Linked DNA regions of Homo sapiens: region 1 is linked to region 2. Evidence: promoter capture Hi-C in human tissues and cell types (Jung and others, 2019). All regions are on one chromosome and are shown on one strand. Each heading gives the region's core, a stretch centred on a gene start or on the middle of the fragment in contact. The rest is flanking DNA. Distances are from core to core; before and after follow the strand shown.

Evidence for each region. The method cuts DNA at HindIII sites, captures the fragments that hold promoters and counts their contacts. A contact is called where the count stands out against the background at its distance.
Region 1: a fragment that was not itself captured here is called in contact with the fragment with the promoter of MRPL3 in region 2 in 1 of the 25 tissues and cell types used here (psoas muscle).

What each region holds. Positions count from the first base shown.
Region 1 is chr3:131,539,390-131,546,476 of GRCh38, reverse strand. CPNE4 (copine 4) reads left to right here. Exons shown (of 16, transcript NM_130808.3): 15 at 3,684-3,920. Among named protein-coding and RNA genes, the nearest start is that of MRPL3, 40 kb to the right of the region's middle. The HindIII fragment of the contact is 6,018 bases long and covers 2,720-7,087 here.
Region 2 is chr3:131,501,721-131,508,915 of GRCh38, reverse strand. It overlaps MRPL3 (mitochondrial ribosomal protein L3), which reads left to right and starts at 5,945. Exons shown (of 10, transcript NM_007208.4): 1 at 5,945-6,186. The coding sequence starts at 6,095. It overlaps LOC105374114 (a long non-coding RNA gene), which reads right to left and starts at 6,317. Exons shown (of 3, transcript NR_189111.1): 1 at 6,212-6,317. RefSeq lists enhancers at 6,047-6,116, 5,623-6,309. The HindIII fragment of the contact is 5,057 bases long and covers 2,446-7,195 here.

The DNA.
Region 1 (7,087 bases), core at 4,479-6,978, 38 kb before region 2:
TTGAACATCTTTGGCAAGCTGTGCCAGGGAGTCTGTTGCTATAGGATTTTCCCCTTGATTTTGTGGAACTCTTCCAGGTAAAAAATGCCCCTCTTTATCTAAACAGGACCTCAAGTATATTCAAAGACTATAATATTTCATCCATGAGCATTTTCCCAGTCTGACTTTAGAAGGAACTGTTATTGTTTGCTTTATTGGAAATTTCTATCAGGTTTCGATCCTGCAGTCTACAGCCTAGTGCCTTTAGCTAGATGAAACCTGGCAGGATCAGATTCCAGAATCCTGACAATCTCTTCAGACCAGGAGTTCTTAAACTTATTGTTCCACAAACCCCTTTAGCAGCTGATAAAGTTCATAGATCCCTTCTCAGAAGTGGTTTTTTGTGTTTTTTTGTGTGTGTGGTTTTTTGTGTTTTGTTTTGTTTGAGATGGAGTCTTGCTCTGTTGCCAGGCTGGAGTGCAGTGGCAGCTCACTGCAACCTCTGACTCCCTAGTTCAAATGATTCTCCTGCCTTAGCCTCCCGAGTAGCTGGGATTACAGGCACGTGCCACCACGCCCAGCCAATTTTTGTATTTTTAGTAGAGACAGGGTTTCACCATGTTGGCCAAGATGGTCTTGATCTCCTGACCTCATGATCCGCCCACCTAGGCCTTCCAAAGTGCTAGGATTACAGGCGTGAGCCACTGCACCCAGCCAGAAGTATTTTTAAATGTACAACATAAGACCCATATTATAAAGTAAACCAATTATATTGAAATGCAGTTAGCAAAATATTTTTTAAAAGGAAGATGGAGACATCATAAATACAGTAATAAAATGCTTCTGTATTTACATTTTAAATTATGAGAACCAGTAGTTTGTCTAATAATTCTGTAATTTCTAAGTTGTGTTAAACATAAATAATACATTGAAATATATGTAGGTACTGTAATATAACAGGAAAATATGTGTTTTTTTATTAATAACTAAGCCACAAGTAGAACTAATATTAATTTGATTTGTTGATTACACTTATAGTGAAAAAATGATAAATTTTACTTAGAGATTAGTGAAAATAAAAATGTAATTTACCCCAAGTTTACAGACTGCCTTAAATCTTGCAGTAGTCCATGGAGACAGGTTAAGAACCCCTAGTTTAGATCAGCAGTCAATAAACTATAACTAAACTAAACTGTTTTTCAATGGCTTGCAAGCTGAGAATGGTTTTTAGATTTTTTAATTGTTGAAAAAATCAAAAGTAGAATAATATTTGTATTTTGTGACATATGAAGATTTTGTGACATTAAAAATCAGTGTCCATAAATAAAATATTATTGGAACACAGCCTCTCATATTCATTTTAAATATTGTCTATGGCTGTTTTCACACTACAGTGGCAGTGTTAGGTAGTTGTGACAGAGACCATTATGGTCTACAAAGCCTAAAATACTTATTAATGTCCCTTGACAAAAAATAGTTTCCTGACCTCTGCTGTAGAACATTACGACTCTAAAGTTTCTCAATGTGGTAGTATGACTATCAGGTTGTTTTATTTCTTAAGGCATTTATCAGGTAGGGGAGATTCATCCACTGAACTCTAAGATCAGATCAGACAGGAGTTAGGGGAAGGTAGAGGATAAAGGTAGGAGACACAGAAGTGTGATTCACTCGAGGGCCCACCTGCTCATGAATCAGAAGTAATCTCTTTTTGGATGTGCCACCTGCCCTGGTCTTCCAGGTGCACTCTAGAGAGGGTGACTTATGATTCTGGTATGTCCTATACTCCTTCCCTCCATCCCCAAACCACCAACATTGCCTCTTTCTGCCGCTTCTCTCTGCACCTCCCTACCACCTCCATCACTTCATCCTACTGAAAGCCTTCTCTAAACTCTCAAGCCAACTTCCTTGTGAACATATACAACTCAGAAAATACAGACATAGAAGGAAACATACAACTTGAATGAATCTGAAAACCAAACTGGGAATTCAGCTAGGACTAGGGGTGAGTGGTTAGTTAATGGACATGGAACAGAATTAGCCTTTACATTAGACTGTATGAAAAGCATTCAGAACATGTGGCTATCTTCATCACAGTGTGAAGTTCACCTACCTCCAGCTTACATTTTTCATTTAAAACATTTTTTCAGGCTCACAGAAAAAAAATGAAATTCTTTAGTACTACCAAACTATTTGCAACATTAAGTATATGATTCTCAAAATCAGATGTTTTCAAAATGTCACTCTTCTATCCAATCTTTCTCCTTTGAAGTATGGTAACGTGGAATGGCTTAATCTCACTCTTACTACCTATAAATGTTAGGCATCTTGCAGGATTATATTGAAAGTTCTTTTCTGTTTAGCCTGAGCTGCATCTGACTAATCTGCTTCTCTTTCCTCTTACCAGTAAAGGCCATCATGATGCCTCTCATGTTGACTAAAAATAATGATGACCTCCAATGGGTCATCCTTCTCCAGGCCCCAGAGCACTTTCCAAGGCTTCCCTGTGCTGCTGAGTACAGCACCTTTCCTCCAATTCCCATCTCTGCTGAGTCATCTTCCAGCTTTCCAGATGGAAAGGGGCCAGGCAGGCTGCAGGCCAGAAGTCAGGACTTAAAGCAGGAAGCCATGGGAGCACTGCAACCTTCTGCAAGTGTGCCTGGAGAAGAGCTGCCACCTTTGTGGCACATGGCCTTCAGAGGGAGAGACTGCAACCCTGACCCTCTTATAGCAGGACTTTAGACTAGTGCCATCCAGTGGAAATATAACACAAGTTATGTATACAGTTTTAAATTCTTCAGTAACTGTATTTTAAAAAGTAAAAAGAAACAGAGAAATCCATTTTAATTATATATTTTATTTAAACCAACATAGCCAACATATTGTCATTTTAGCATGTACTCCATATAAAAAAATTATTAATGAAATAATTTGCATTCTATTTTGTATAATAAGTCTTCAAAATCCACATGTATTTTATACTTACAGCATGTCAATTTGGATGCTAAGTTATCATAAATACTTGATCTTTGTTTAGATTTTATAGTTACAGCTTAATTTTAATAACTACCTCACTGACAGTTACAAAGAAAGAAAAAGTAGATTAATCTACTGAAGTTGTTCCAAACATACTTAAAATGTTTCTAATAACTGAATTGGCTATCCAATTTTAATGTTAAATTTAAATTCATTACAATTAAATAAAATATAAAATTCAGTTCGTCACTTGCTCTAGCCACATTTCAAGGGCTGAGTAGTCTCATGGGGTTAGTCATCATTGTATTGGATGTCATAGCTTTAGATTTTTAAATATCTTCAAGTAAAGAAGATCATATAAATTATTGGGTCCCACCCCTCATTTGAGAAATGAAGAAGCTCAGACACAGACGAGTTAAGGGATCGTCCCAGGGTCTCACAGAATGAGGCTTTGAAGCCTGTCCTCCTAACTCTTGGCCTGCTGCTCTTTCTTTGTAACTGTCAGTGAGGTAGTTATTATAATTAAGCTATAATTGCCATGCCTACCTTTAAGCTCCATTCATCAGAACCCTAAGCCTTTAGGACTATCAGCACATTCAAAAAATGTCTGTCATCACTGTTGCTTTGGTCAATGTGCAGTGAGGCCACCTGGGTGTCTAACTGGTATTGTATTGTCCTTGTCTCCCTCACCTCTTCACCCCCCCCCATCATCATGGGGCATCTGACTGCAGCAATACTTCATCCTGCTGATCCTGACAGATGGTGTTATCACAGACATGGCCGACACCCGGGAGGCCATTGTCCATGCCTCCCACCTCCCCATGTCAGTCATCATCGTGGGAGTAGGGAACGCTGACTTCAGTGACATGCAGATGCTGGACGGTGATGATGGGATTCTGAGGTCACCCAAGGGAGAGCCTGTTCTTCGAGACATCGTCCAGTTCGTGCCCTTCAGGAACTTCAAACACGTATGCATATACACATTGGGGCACTTTTCATGGAAGAGCAGAACCAAAGCATGCTCACCTCCCACATTTGTCCACCAATGTTTATGGTGATCCACCATTCTTGAAGCAACACCAGCTATGCTCTACATACCCTTGCTGTGGGAGATGACCTGGCTTAGCTATCCCTTCCTGGGCCACGTCATCTCCCACAACAAGGATATATAGAGCATGACTCTTTGGAGAAAAAAATTATAAATTGAGTTACAGATCAGGAGCCATGCTAACTATTGTAGGCAAAATTTCACTGATGCTTGCCCTATAATTCATATAATTTAGGATCTCTAGTGCATCTAGGACTGCCTACAGATGGGCAGCTTGTTCCCTGCCTAAAGGTGCCTGCCCAAAGTACCAAGCAGAAACTGAAATGCAGCTTATGTTTTGCTTGTCAAGCTATGTGGCCTGGCAGAAGTCTGTGTTTGCCTTGGCAAAGTATATTTCCAAAATGATAGAAACCTAAATCCTCTATAAAAAATATAGTAAGCAGCATCAAAAATTTATTTAACTCCTTCAAAACAAGATGATAAAGTTAGTTCAAAAGAGTATATAAGGCTGGGTGCAGTGGCTCACCCCTGTAATCCCAGCAGTTTGGGAGGCCAAGGTGGGTGTATCGCCTGAGGTCAGGAGTTTGAGACCAGCCTGACCAACATGGTAAAACTCCATCTCTACTAAAAATACAAAAATTAGCTGGGCGTGGTGGCAGGCGCCTGTAATCCCAGCTACTCGGGAGGCTGAGGCAGGAGAATCACTTGAATCAGGGAGGTGGAGGTTGCAGTGAGCCGAGATCACACCACTGCACTCCAGCCTGGGTGATGAGAGTGAGAGTTGGTTTCAAAAAAAGTAAATAAATAAGACAGTTAAAGTCAGTGGGAAAAAATGCTGAATAAGTTTGCTAAGGTAGATTGAAAACTGATTAATGACCAAGAGGGTAAAAAAAAAAAAAAAAAGTAATCTTTGAATTGCCCTCTCTGTGGGCCAGAAATCGCCTGCTATCAGTTTTCTATAAATTAATACCTAACTTTACAGTCTTGGGCTCTTACCAGTAAGAAATAGTAAGTCAGTCAAGCAGCATTGCATTCCCCAAGGGCCTTGAGGCAGAACCATTAGACAATGCTCTAGTATGACATAGAAAAAATGCTCAGTAACAATTTTCCCACCTTCCCAGGTTTTGATACATTGTGTCCATGGAGGAAGGAGCATTTTTTAAATTTCCACAAATCCCTGCACCTACTGAGCTGTAATCACCCAGAAGGACATCTTGAATTCATAAAAGCCTCCCTTGGGGCTAATGGTAGTCCTGAAGACCCCTCTAGAGTATCCTAGCTGTGTCTAGGCACCTGTGGGGGTAACTTGGGTATTACTGGATAGCCTTTGTGTTTTTTGTTTTGTGCTTCTTGTGAAAGCCACCCAAGAGGAGAGCATATGCCCAGCCCCTACTTTCCACTGAGGCCTTGCCCTCTGCACTGCTGCAGATGCCAACAATACCATCCCCAGGGCTGGTGACTAAACTTGAGCTGCCCTGGCAACAGGGAATCTTCAGAACCTTCAGTACCGTGAAGCTTATCTGTGGTCTCCTTGGAAAAGAAGAGAATCCTCTCCTTTCCATGCTACCGAGTCCCCTCTGTCACCTGAGTCATTAATGCAGTGAGATGTGTCTCCACATCTCAAAGACCCCTGCTGGAAAGTATCTTCATTAACTTCCACTGCAGTCCCTCCCTGCATAGGGCTCAAATCAGTTATTTGGGTCAGGCAGGATGCCATCCCCTCCACTTCAACCTTATTTGGTAAAGCCTTTCTCCTCCAGTCAAAAACTCATTCAAATGAATCCCTGACATTCTTCATACTGAGTTTATCAGATATATCCAGACACATCTGACTCCCAACTTGGGTTCACACTGGACTCTCACCTATACTGTGTAAGGAAATTGCAGATGAGAGGTGGAAAGCTAAATGGATCATCAAAACAATGATCCATCCATCCTCCCACCCCCATACATACTTGACTGTAATCCTGGTACCAGTCCTAGTGTGAGAGCCTTTAGCATATGCTCTTCAGAAATTGCTGTTTGTTGTGCCACTTTCTTTGGACAGGCTTTAAAATAAGAATTCAGATAGATCACCAGCTCAGCAGCCTCAGCTGAACTCTGTATTTCATGACCTGCCCAGACTTCATAGGGAAGTAACTGCACATTCCAAGGCTCCTTGGATGATGAGGTATTGTTCATAACTGTACTGCCACACAATTACTACTCTACTTTTAAGGAGGGCTGCAGTGTAATTAAAATCACTGAAGGAGCAGAAAACCAATCCCTGGCTACAGAGTTGATCACAGAGAGAGTTTCTAAGTAACAGCAACAGCAGTCAATCTTCCCACAAGCTCCCAGGGCTGTGCATGTGGATGAGGGGTAATTGTGTTGTTATATGCCATCCTCAAGTTTCCCTAGGAAGAGATTTTCAAATAAAGGTACTCATTAATGAAAGAGATGCACTAAGCCCTAAAGTTGTCTGCCTATGGACAGCAAGGAGTAGAGTCAAAAAGAAGTAGTATTCTTTACAGACGGATGAGCTAGAGCAGGCTAAATTTGCTGCAATTATGTTCATTAATGAAGCTAGTTTCTCCCTAGGTGTCTAAGATGGAGGAAAGGGTGTTCTTCCTGATTTTAATGCTGCATTCTTTTCAGACAGACAAAATAGATAGACACATCACTGAATACCAGTGATAACTTTGCATAGTGCAGCAGGATCAAAGAGTTCACTCTCTAGGAGATTCATTAACTTCCCCAAATCACCCTCTCTCCCCTCTGCATCCCCCACCTCCCCACTTCCCCACACACACTTGTGTGCTGACACAATGTCACTGAACTATGAAAGGTTCTAACCTCTACCCTCAAGTCTCCTCCTCTTCCCCAAAACACTTACAGAATGCTTGTTCTGTGCAAGGCACATGCTAGTCACTAGGACCACAATGAAATGATAGAACCATGGATCCACACCTCAAGACATTTACTGGAGAATTGCATGACTGGGAGAAAGGTATTAGCAGAAAAATCACATGCTAAGCAACCTGTGGGTGGTTGAGAAGAATTAAAATGTTGTTACAGGACCTCAAAGCAGAGAGAGGTAGCCATGGG
Region 2 (7,195 bases), core at 4,696-7,195:
ATGGTGGCACTCACCTGTAGTCCTAGCTACTCAGAAGGCAGGCAGGAGGATCGCTTAAGCCCACAAGTTTGAGGCTGCAGTGAGCCATATCATGCTACTGCACTCCAGCCTAGGTGACAGAGCAAGACCCCATCTCTAAAAAAAAAAAAAAAAAAGGTAAGCAAAACTAAATAAAGAAAATAGAACAGTTTCTCTTAAAATCTTGATGTTATATCTCAAAATATTCCAAAATCAAATTCTGTTTGCTATATGAGTTACCAGCATTTTGAACTTCGGGCTTAATTGTCTATAATAGTCTTCCATTTCTGCTATAACAAAGTACCCAAAGCTAAATGGCTTAAACAACACAAATTTGTTATTTGACAATTCTAGGGGTCAAAAGTTTGACACAAGTCTCACTGGGCTACTATGAAGGTGGCTGCAGGGTTGCATTCTATTCTGGAGCTCCTACAGGAGAATATAGTTCCTTGCCTTTTCTAGCTTCTAGAGGTCACTGCATTCCTTGGCTTGTGGACCCCTTCTTCCATCTTCCAGGTAAACACTGTTAGGTTGATTCTTTTTACATTGCATTTATCTTACCCTTCCTCCATTGTTACATTTCTCACCACAGCCAGAAATGTTCTCAGATTTTAAGGATTCATGTAATTACATTGGGCCCACCCAGATAATCTAGTATAATCTCCACATCTCAAGGTTCAAAACTCTAATTACATCTGCAAAGTCCCTTTTGTCACGTAATAAAGGACATTTACAGATTTCAAGAATTAGGACGTAAACATTTAGAATAATGTGACTATTGTGGCTGGGCGCAGTGGCTCACACCTGTAATCCCAGCACTTTAGGAGGCTGAGGCAGGTGGATCACGAGGTCAAGAGATCAAGAACATCTTGGCCAACATGGTGAAACCTGTCTCTACTTAAAAAAAAAAAAAATACAAAAATTAGCCGGGCATGGTGGCGGGCCCCTGTAAACTCAGCTACTTGGTATGCTGAGGCGGACAATTGCTTGAACCCAGGAGGCAGAGGTTGCAGTGAGCCTTGATCACGCCACTGCACTCCAGCCTGGTGACAGAGTGAGACTCTGCACTCCAGCCTGGTGACAGAGCGAGACTCCATCTTTACAAAAAAGAAAAAAAAAAAAGAAAGAATAATATAACTACTGTTTTCTACCTTCCAGAAGGACTTTCACTTAGAAGACTAGAAGGGACCTCAGCTGGACAGATGAACAGGCAGAGAGGTGAAGTGATTTACTCTGTGTCGCACTGCTAGTTAAGTTTAGACCTGAGATTGAATCCCAAGTCTCTTGGCTCTGAGTTCACAGCCATTTTTAGAATGCTGCTACCCAAAATGTGGTCAGCACTGACATCATCTTGAGCTTCTTAGAAATGCAGACTCTCAGATCCCACCCTAGACCTAATGAATCAGGTTCCGCATTTTAGCAAGATTCCCAGGTAAATCTTGTACACATTCAGGGTTGAGAATCACAGGCTTTCAACATCACGTGGGCTCTGAAAAGCCTCCAATGAGGTTGCATAGGAATTGAATGGGTGAATATCTCAAGCAGTTCGGCCTCATCATTCTCTCTTGAGACCGACGGATTCTGATCTAGACTGATGAGACGCCTAAAGATGCAGGCTTAGCACTATCATCATCAATCTTTGTTGGTCTGGGGCATCCTCTGGATGCTGAGCTGAGTGTTCCAATAATGTGCTATGCAGCTTTCTCTTCTAAGGACAGAGGCAGTACAGCAGATCAGTTAAGCACTTGGACTCTAGACAGCCTGCCTGGCCTCAACTCCTGTCTCCACCACTTACTTAACAAATGTAAAGTTTGTGCACTTGAATGACCTGCTCATCGTCTCTGTGCCTCAGTTTCCATATTTGTAAAATGGGGTTGAGACTAACAGTACCCACTTCACAGGTGAGGATTAAATAAGTTAATATATGGAAAGCACATAGATCAGTGTCTGCCACTTAGCAAAAGCAATGCAAATGTTAGTTATTTATCATTTTTCAGGGAATCCCTAGGCCTCCTCTAAGTGGAATCAAAATCCTAAATGAACTCAGTCTTTAGAATTTCTCCAGATTCTGTATCTGTAAGGCTCAGAGGGGTAATCCTGATTATGATTCTAGGTGGCTAGAGTATCCACTGGTTTGGAGCTATACTCTGGCCATCAAAACTACACTGGCATTGGGAGGAAGACCAGGGAGGAAGAGATGTCCTTTTGAAAAGCATTGGTTCCCTGGCATGTGATGCTACATTGTCTGTTGCTAATATTTTTTCTAAGTAATCAAAGAACTTTAAAAAATGGACATTGGTATAATTACATTAAGTTTTGAAACCTTAAACCCAGATTACTACATGGCCATACTGCTTTTTTCTATTTTTTTAAGGCTTTCTTCAAGCCAAATGAATTTTAATTCTGATCATCTCTTGGAACCCTAAAGTCTGTGGGCTTACTTGGGAATTTACAAATAAAAATTATGTTTTAAAAGCAATATATTAAAGTTACAAATTGTGATTTGGCCTTACTGAAGGACATTGAAGCAGAATTCATTCTCTTACTGAATGAGTATCTGTGGATTTTGCAATACAGCCTTTCAAATTTTCTATTTCAGCCAGCAATGAAATCTTAAAGTTCAAAAATCTCTTAAAGTTTATTTTATCTATATCCCCATTGAATGCTTGACTCACTTTCATAACATCTTTACTGATTTTAAAATATGCTAGATTCTCACAACTTGAGAAAAATGGAGAAAAAAAAGGATAACTTAGTAAATCCAAACTCATTGTTTAAAAGATTTCTAATTTCAAATATAAGGTATGTTATAAACTAAGAGACAGCATAAATGAATACTAAAGTGGAAATTACCCAACACAAAATTTACCATCTTGCAATAATCCAACTATACAGGATATATCACAAACATTATAAGAGCTAATGGTAGAGCCTAATGGCAGGAACACATATAAAAGATTATTTCCAGTGAACTCTTGCTTTGAAATCTGCTCCTTCTATGATGATTCTCTTGTATTGAACATGGCTTTAGTAATTCAAAAATGAATCTATTCCTAATGTTTTATTTAATAAGAGAAGGTTTATGAGATCATCTGTTGGTCTGAATTAGCGGAGTAAGAGTTATAGAACTGTACCACTAAAAAGAGAAAGTGCAAGTTATCTTCGTTCCAATAAGGAATTGAAATCTTAGAGAGGCAAAATGGCATTACAGTTTCAGGGTCTAAGGCAGTGTCTGAAGGATGACATCAGAAATAACAGGAAGCTCTAGGTCAGTGCCTGACTGCCCTAGAAAAGCCTAGGCTGGGTCCCTTGACAACTGGGCCTAGTAGCTGTCAGCAGCATATTACAGTGACTAAATCAAGTATGACACCACTCAGCCCTGGCTGGCAATCAGGAGACACATTTTTTACGACAGCAGACAAACCATGTTTTACTTTGATTCAGTTCAGCGGTGGTGCCTGCTGTCAAGGTCCTCCTTATGGACTAGGAGATATTTGGTACTATGGGAAAAGGTTAGACCAAATGGCTACCTCTTCAATCCTCACTGACCACTGCGTGTGATTACTTACCGATTTTCCTCTTTAGCCTTAAAGAAATTCCAAGGCAAGAGTAGTGACATATTTGTCATAGAGAGCCAAAGAAACAAAATGTCTAAAAGCATAAGCTCTATCTATGGTCACAGTCTTTGGCTCTACCAGTTAATAGCTGGGTGATTTTATTTAAGTTATGTAATCTCTGTATGCCTATTTTCTTAACTGTAAGATCCAGATAATTATACTATTGTCACAGCAGATTGTCATAACAATCAAGTGAGAAAATACACTGAGAGAGTAAAAATGAATACTATTAGTAACTGGACTGCAGTGTTTATAGCAGAACATCAATACAATATTTCTTTTTTTTTTTTTTGAGACGGAGTCTTGCTCTGTCACCCAGGCTGGAGTGCAGTGGCTCAATCTCGCTCACTGCAAGCTGCGCCTCCCAGGTTCACACCATTCTCCTGCCTCAGCCTCCTGAGTAGCTGGGACTACAGGCACCCGCCACTACGCCCGGCTAATTTTTTTTTGTATTTTTAGTAGAGAAGGGGTTTCACCATGTCAGCCAGGATGGTCTCAATCTCCTGACCTCGTGATCCACCCGCCTTGGCATCCCAAAGTGCTGAGCCACCACGCCCAGCCCATCATTACAATATTTCTTACAGACCGTACTGTAGGCCACACCACTGCAGCAAAATGACTAACAGTTCCTTATTCTGAGTGATTCCTGCTTTCTTATGAACATCATGCCCACTTCCTCTCTGTTCTTCCTGTCTCTAGAACAAAGACTATCAAGATATCCAATTGCTGAACTGTCCTTTCTTCTTGACAGCACCCATTCTAAAACAAGTTCCTGCTTCTCTGATGCCACTTTAAAATCACTCAGCCTTAAGTCCAAATTTCATTTCAAGCCCCTCCCAGGTCACTCTTTTGGAAACATCCTCAGACATATGCTGTCTTTTGCTGCATCAAGCTAATTAAACTTGACTTTGTATGAGTTCACGTTTTCTTCTAGTAGCCTTGGCTTATGGGCTTCCACAATGCTGAGCACATACTCTAGCACACTATATGGATAAGAAATGTTAGTTATTGGCAGTAGTACAGAAATCTTCTTATTCTCAACTTCTTGCATGTAGCACACCTCAAAACATGTTTGTTCAATGAAGAGCCATCCTTAAGTATCTGGGAAGCCAGGCAGCATGGCTAGAATGAAGAGATGTAGTTTTTCCTTCAAGGTCCAAAGTATTATTGAAAAGTGTCTAAGGTAACTGCAACAGCAATGAGTGGAATGAATGGACAAGCAAAGCAAAGATTTTTTAGCCCACTAAAGTCCAAGTAATGGCCAGGAATTGACCATTGTCTGGACCTGTTAAACCAAGATAGCCAGATCTCTAGTAAAAAGAGAAGGTTGAAATAGCTACACTTTAAAGTTCTTATTTCCAAATTTCTACAAACAGTAATCTGACAAATAAGGGAATTAGTAGAAGAATAAATGTCCTAGTCACATACATGGTTATTAGGCTAGATCTGGAACCCAAGACAGGGGATTTTTTGTGCAGGTGTATTAGCTATCTATTATTGCATAACAAATTACCCTAAAGCTTAATGACTCAAAAAAACGGTAATCATTTATTTTCTCTGGCAATTTCTCCTAGTCAGTAATTCATGAGCGGCCTGGCTGGGAGATTCAGGCTTAACGTCTCCATGAGTTGCAGCCGAGGACTGGTGGATCCACTTCCTAGGTGGCTCAGTCATGACTGGCTAGTTGATTCCTCTTTATATGTTCCTCCCTGCAGAGCTGTTTGAGTGTCTGCAGGAAATGAAGGCTAGCTTTCTCCACAGGGAGCAATCCAAGAGACAAAAACTGAAGTAACAATATGTTTTATGATCCAGCCCTAGAAGGCATACATCATTTCTATGGGTGTAGTCTATTGATAACACATGCCAACCCTGTTTCAGTGCCAACTCTGCTCCTCTGCCAGATGTGTTGTTTTGGACCAGCACCTAAATTCTGAGTCAGTTTCCTCATTTATAATAGAAAAATAAATACTTCCTTTCAGGACCGTTTTTTATGATTAACAAATATAGGATTATGAAGCGCTGCTTAGCATAATGCATTGCCTCACAACGGGCACTATTTAGAAGTGTCTTCATTTTCCTTAGCGTCCTCAGGAAGTCTGTCCTTATTCTTCTAAAGTTTAAACTCTGAACATCCCTTTTATTTTACCCCTGGAGAGGCGAGTCAGTCCCTTCCCACCCCTACCTACTCCAACTCACATCCAAAGTAGGACAACGGTGGAAGCAGAACTATAGTTTCCGGGGAGCGACTCGAGTGCCCGGAGTTCATTGTAAAACGCACCGGAAGTGGGTCCGGCGGCTTTCTTTCCGTCGCAGAGAGCATCGGCCGGCGACCGTTCCGGCGGCCATTGCGAAAACTTCCCCACGGCTACTGCGTCCACGTGGCGGTGGCGTGGGGACTCCCTGAAAGCAGAGCGGCAGGGCGCCCGGAAGTCGTGAGTCGAGTCTTCCCGGGCTAATCCATGCCGGGTTGGAGGCTGCTGACGCAGGTCGGCGCCCAGGTGCTGGGTCGACTCGGGGACGGCCTGGGTGCTGCCCTGGGCCCGGGGAACAGGTAGGAAGGTGTGAGGGTGTCCTACCTGCACAGTTGCGTCCTGAAGCAGTGGAATGGCCTGGTGCAGTTGGGCCTCCCCTGGGTGGAGGAGGAAGGGGCTCTGTTGAGACGTGGGACACAGAAGAATAAGGGCCGTTAACCTAAGGAAGCACGTTCTAAGGGGATTGAAGTGGTGATTTTTAAAAAACGCTTATGAGCCAGCCACTAGCAGCGAACGCTATTAACAGCAATCATATCTTACAATTAGTGAGCGTTTGCCAGGTACTAAGCGCTCTGCTAAGTGTATTAGGTGCCTTATGTAGCCTCACGGGAGCAAACTGCTATCATAAGGTTTACAGATAAAACTGAAGGTTAGGGAGGTGAGTTAATTTGCCCAAAGTCACTCAACTAATAAGTGGAAAATTAGGAATCTAGCCTGAATTTATCTGACTACAAAAGGAGAGTAGACTGCAGAAAGCTTTACTTCTGTTCTGACCCTCCATGCAAGAATTACACCCCTTCTTCCTGACCTCCGCCCACTAAGGTCTTTCTTGGTATGTTCACCTGTTCAGAGGTCATGCCTTTTGTGGATCTTTTAACTTTGCACACCCAGTTTCTTCACTTCTCTGAACCTAGGCCATGTCATTGCAGGGAGGAGGTGAGCTTGTTAGACAAAGATCAACATGCCACCTTCTGCCACCTCCACTGAATGTAAAACTATTAAGGTACACTTCCAAATGGGTTAGTGGCTTTTCATGTCTATAGGTAGGACTGTTTTTTGGGGAATATGTTTATCTGCGAGGAGAAGATGAATTTTTTTCTCCAGGGTAACGACTAACAGTTTAAATGTGAGCCTTATCCGAAGGAATGTGGGGAGTGAGGAAAAGGTTGGAGACCTGAAAAAAAGGTATACAGAATCCAAGCCCTTTCCCAAGGCCCTGACTACACTTTCCAATTTGTGACTTCCCTTTTCTATATTAAGTGGAGGAAGTTTTTAAATTGTGGTTTGGTTTTATTTATTTTTTCTTTT